Regions from separate parts of the Homo sapiens genome. Here region 1 is linked to region 2. The links are contacts of gene promoters, found by promoter capture Hi-C in blood cells and fetal thymus (Javierre and others, 2016). All regions are on one chromosome and are shown on one strand. Each heading gives the region's core, a stretch centred on a gene start or on the middle of the fragment in contact. The rest is flanking DNA. Distances are from core to core; before and after follow the strand shown. Region 1 has its middle 21 kb from the start of GNA12. Region 2 holds the start of CARD11 (caspase recruitment domain family member 11).

The links. The method cuts DNA at HindIII sites, captures the fragments that hold promoters and counts their contacts. A CHiCAGO score of 5 or more calls a contact.
Region 1: a contact is called between a fragment that was not itself captured here and the fragment with the promoter of CARD11 in region 2, in 4 of 17 cell types (total CD8 T cells, non-activated CD4 T cells, naive CD4 T cells and 1 more). The highest score is 7.3, in total CD8 T cells.

Annotation. Positions count from the first base shown.
Region 1 is chr7:2,863,740-2,866,439 of GRCh38, reverse strand. No RefSeq gene overlaps it. Among named protein-coding and RNA genes, the nearest start is that of GNA12, 21 kb to the right of the region's middle. RefSeq lists a silencer at 1,745-1,824 and an enhancer at 2,602-2,700. The HindIII fragment of the contact is 683 bases long and covers 935-1,617 here.
Region 2 is chr7:3,042,557-3,045,256 of GRCh38, reverse strand. CARD11 (caspase recruitment domain family member 11) reads left to right here and starts at 1,390. Exons shown (of 25, transcript NM_032415.7): 1 at 1,390-1,590. RefSeq lists an enhancer at 1,168-1,462 and a silencer at 1,328-1,677. The HindIII fragment of the contact is 15,618 bases long and covers 868-2,700 here.

The sequences.
Region 1 (2,700 bases), core at 27-2,526, 180 kb after region 2:
CGATTAGGTTGGGTCACAGAAAAACACAGTCCTAGCCGGGTACAGTGGCTCATACCTGTAATCCCAGCACTTTGGGAGGCTAAGGTAGGAGGATCCTTTGAGCTCAGGAGTTCAAGACCAGCCTGAGCAATATGGCAAAACCCCGTCTCTACAAAAAATATAAAAAATTAATGAGTCAGGTGTGGTGTCAAGCACCTCTGGTCCCAGCTACTCAAGAGGCTGAGGTGAGAGGACCGCTTGCGCCCTGGAGGTTGAGGCTGCAATGAGCTGTGATCCCACCACTGCACTCCAGCCTGGGCAACAAAGCGAGACCCTGTCTCAAATAAAAGAAAAAAGGGCCAGGCGTGGTGGCTCACACCTGTAATCCCAGCACTTTGGGAGGCCAAGGCATGTGGTTCACTTGAGATCAGCAGTTCAAGACCAGCCTTACCAACATGGTGAAACCTTATCTCTACTAAAAATACAAAAATTAGCTGAGCGTGGTGGTGGGCACCTGTTATCTCCAGCCTGGGCGACAGAGAGACTTGGTTTCAAAAAAAAAAAGAAAGAAAAAAAAAAGGAAAAAAACACAGCCCTGGTTTTGCTTCACTCAAGTACATGGAATAAGAAACGCTTGCCTGCTGGCCAAGTGACCCTCCCACAGCGGTCAGGAAGCTTCTAGAACCCGGTTATGTTGGCTGAAAGCAGAAATGGCCAAGTCAACCTCAGTGTGATATTGAGGGGGCTCCTGGGGCTGGAAGCATGCACCCCAAACTTAGACCCCGGCAAAAGGAGTGGGGAAGATGCCGGTGCCATGAGGGCAGGAAGCTGAGTTTGTTGCTAGGGGCCTGGGAGTGTTCCCGGAGGACGGGAGCCCTGTGAGGGGCATCTGGCGGCTGACACTGATGAATGGCTGTGCCGGGCCAGCCTTACCTGGGCAGCCAAGGCCAAAGCTTGGGGGCAGGAGGAGTGGCAGTGACACGGCTGCAGCTGGATGGAATCCGGGGCCTGAACCCCAGCATCCCCTCCCTGACACCCTACAGCTACCCATAGCCGGGGAGGTGGGGAGGTGCCGGCCCTCGGCCCACAATGCTGATCACATCTGTCTGGTTCTGAGGAGGAAATCCAGGACCTAATGAGAACAAATGGCAGCCTGGATAACTCATCTGTGGTCACAGATGAGATTTCCCCACCCGCTGCACCCCTAATTCAGCAGAGGCCATCTATGGGTTTCCTTGTGTGGCATGAGCGACACCTGGTGGTCACAGATGGGAATTTCGAGTCATGTTCTTCAGGCTGCTTGGGACACCCCACCTGGACCCCATCCCACTCTGGGCAAAGGCAAGACCACCACTGAGCTCAGGGTGCACCTGAGACTTGGCCGCAGCAAGGAGATGTAGATACAAGGATCACGTCAGAAGACGTTTCATTCATTCATTCACGTTCCCAAGCATTTAGTGAGCGCATACCAGGTATCAGGAAGAGATGAACAAAATGGTTTTATGAAGTTTGCATCCTAATGAGGAAAGCAGATAACAAGCATGTAAATATCAGATAATTCCTTACTGTTAAGTGCTGTGAGAATTCACAAGGTTCAGAAATTGAGTCAAAAATCTTTCTCAGTACCCTCAATAAGCTTCATCTCAGGCCGGGCGCAGTGGCTCACGCCTGTAATCCCAACACTTCAGGAGGCCGAGGCGGGGTGATAACTTGAGGTCAGGAGTTTGAGACCAGCCTGGCCGACAGTGAAACCCCGTCTCTACCAAAAAATAGAAAAATTAGCCAAGCGTGGTGGCACATGCCTGTAGTCACAACTACTCGGGAGGCTGAGGTGGGAGAATCATTTGAACCTAGGAGGCAGAGGTTGTAGTGAGCTGAGATCTTGCCACTGCACTCCAGCCTGGGCAACAGAGAGAGACTCTATCAAAAAAAAAAAAAGTGTAAGCCTCATCTTAGCTGAATCCCTGGACACTTACCTTGCCACAGGTCCCAGGCCCCAACCTCAGGAACTTTATATGGACTCTTGCGAAAGTGAGGCAGTGGAGTGACTGGGCAACGGATGTGGAATCAGGAAGACCTTGGGTTCCAATCCTGACTCTGCCACCTCCTAATTTTGTGGCCTTGGGCACATTACCTACCTTGTCTCAGCCTGTTTCCTCAACAGAGAAAAATGGGAATTACAACAGGACCTTATTACAGGACCTACCTCCTAGTTACAAAACTTAATGCCATAACTTACGGTCAGAAAAGTGCTTGGAGCATCTCCAGACCCAGAGAACCACTTGCAGTAAATATTAGCTGCTATTGTTATTGATATTACTATTGTGCCGACACTCCAGACCTTCTCCTCCTCCTCCTCTTCCTCCTCTTCCCCTCCCAACCCCAGAAGCCAGGAGAAAGAGGAAGGACCGCAGCCAGTCCCCCCGACCTCTCCCCTCCTTCTCCAGGGCTCTCCGGCCAAGGCTAAGCCAGCCCTTCAGTGGGGGACAAGATGAGTGCGAAATTGCATGTGAGATGGCAGTTTCAGACTCAACCAGACTGGCCTTTCTATTGCCCAGAATTACCCAAGCTGAGGCTAAGGGACAGGAAGCAGAGATTGGAAAGGGCAGGGCTGACGGGAGTGAGTCACTGGTGGGGAGAAAATGAACCACTTCCTGTGTGTTCCCACAGAGGTCAGGGCCCTCAGCAAACAGCGACAGGCTACAGGCTCGTTCTCCGGGC
Region 2 (2,700 bases), core at 141-2,640:
ATCAGTCACTGGAATAGTGCACATTGTACAGTATACATTGTACCCAATAGGTGATTTTTCATCCCCTACCCCCTCCCATTCTTCCCCCTTCTGAGTCTCCAACGTCCATGATCCCACTCTGCCTGCCTTTGCCTACCCATAGCTTAGCTCTCGCTTTTAAATAAGAACATGTAGTATTTGGTTTTCCACTCCTGAGTTACTTCACTTAGGATAATGGCCTCCAGTTCCATCCAAGTTGCTGCAAAATACTTTATTTCGTTCTTTTTTATGGCTGAGTAGTATTGCATGGCGTGTGTGTGTGTATCACATTTTCTTTCATCCAGATTTTTGAGTCTGCAATCCATGTAAACCCTTGGGACCATCCCACCCATGACGATGGCCATTTGGGGTAAATTATTAAAATGATGACATCCAGCTGGGCGCAGAGGCTCATGCCTGTAATCCCAGCACTTTGGGAGGCTGAGGTGGGCATATCACTTGAGGTCAGGAGTTCGAGGCCAGCCTGGCCATCATGTTGAAACCCCATTTCTACTAAAAATACAAAAATTAGCCAAGTTTGGTGGTGCACGCCTGTGGTCCCAGCTACTCGGGAGGCTGAGGTGGGAGAATCGCTTGAACCCAGGAGGTGGAGCTTGCAGTGAGCTGAGATTGTGCCACTGCACTCCAGCCTGGGTGACAGAGCGAGACTCCATCTCAAAAAATAAAAATAAAGTAAAATGATGACATCCAAATCACAGTTTCTCTTACAAGTATACTTCACCGGAACATCGAGGGCACAAGCTGATGGTGGGTGTCTTGGACCCCAAAGCTGTCGGGGTGAGGAAGGCCTTTGAAGGGGTGCTGACCACCCGGCATGCCCAGGAAGCTTCCAGAACAGGGGCTGAGGGAGGAAAGAGGCTTGGGGTGTAGGAGGCTGCAGGATTTGATGTGGGGCACCCCGTTCCCCTCCCATTGCAGTGACAGGCTCTGGAATTTCTTCAGAAATTCAGCTAGATCTCGGGAGCCAGTGCCCTGGAGAACCTAGAAGGGAGAGAGCCCCTCCCAAGGCCCCACCTGGACTCTGCCGGGGGTCACGGCTGGGTGGGGACTGATGCCCAGACTGGTCCAGCCTCACCCCGACTGATGCAGGTGGGCTGGGCCCTGAGACTCGCCTTGGTCTCCCCATCTCCGGCTCCCTGATCTGTCCCCAAGCACCCCCACCCCCGGCCCTGTCCCCACTCCCACCCCCACCTCCTTGCCGCCCTCCTCCCGAAGCACCGACTCCGCCCCCTCCCTCTCTTCCTTATCTTTTTCTAACCTTTCGCATTTTTTAGTCTCATTTCCTGTCGGGTTTTGCATTTCCCTCCCCCGCCCCTCCCAGCCTATGACATACTTTCTCTCCTTTTTTCTCTCCTGCCTCCTCTGGCCTTCGGACTCCTGCCCGCGCCGCCCGCAGCCCCCTCCCGGCCCTGCAGCCCCTGGGCGGGCGGCGCCCCTCGGAGGACGGCTCCGGGCCCGGGGGGACGGAGGGCCTGGTCGCCTGGAGGAAGCCGGAGGCCTGCGTGGAGGAGGCGCCCCGCGCAGCTGGCTGGCGGAGCATGAGCGCCCCAGGTAGGCGCAGCGGGGATGGGGGAGCTGGCGGAGGGGGAGCACGAGGCGGGGAGTTGGGGGAAGAGAAGAGGGCACGGGGAGGAGATGGGGGGCATCAGTGAGATGACACGGTGGCGGGGGGGGCGTCGGGGGATGGGAGTGGCTCCCGCTGGTCCCGCGATGCTGGGGGTATCCTTCCCTCTCCATCTCTGTCCCCCTGCCCCCCTTCTCTCTCTCACTCTCCTCTCCCCTTTTTCCCTTCCAACCCTTTTTCTCCCTCACTTTCCACCTCGTGTGCCTCTCCTCCGTGTCTCTTTGAGCGTCTCTGAGTATCACCGCCCAGCAAAGCCCCCACCTCCTCCTACTGGACAGGAAAAAATCGGGGGTCAGGAGGCTGCAGCCCCTTGGTGCACCTGCCCCAGAGGGAGGAAGAGAAACTTTTCTGACACCTGAAAGGCCCGGAAGTTTGCAGACCACAGCCCAGCCTGACTCAGAGGCTCCTGGGAAGGTGGGGCCTGGCTCAGGGAGGAAGGGCAGCCGCACCAAAAGTGGGTGTGGAGCTGGGAGATGGGAGAGGACAGCCCCCCGCGGGGACTGTACTAGAAAGGGGGTGGCGGGGGCACAGGAGAGGGCCCAGGTTCCCGACTGAAACCCGGAGCAGGTCCTAGCGGCCTCAGGCCTGAAAGCCACCTCCCCCAGGAGGCCCCTCCAGGCCCGATGGGGCCACCAGGCCTTCTGCTGAGCCCCCTCTGCAGATAGGGGCAGAGAGGGTGTTTCTGTCCCTCGGGGGCTCTGAGCACCGCTGGAGGCTGTCACGGGGACCCAGGTTCATGGACAGTGGTCTCAGCTGTGAGCTTCGGGGCTGCCCACACAAACTTGGTCTTGGACCAAACTGACCTCTCTCTGCCTGGCCTGCTCTCAAAGCCTTTGATTTGTAGTTCAAAACATTTTCTCCTAATATTTATGACTCGTCTTGAAGGTATAAGGTTACCAACCTACCAGAAAGGGGAGAAAAATAGTCGATCGTTCATTCCACATTTATTGAGCGCTCAGCCTGTGCATAATGCGTGCCGGAAATCCCGGGAGCCGGGAATTGATATGAGGACAGGAATTTCTCCGTAAGTGTCCACT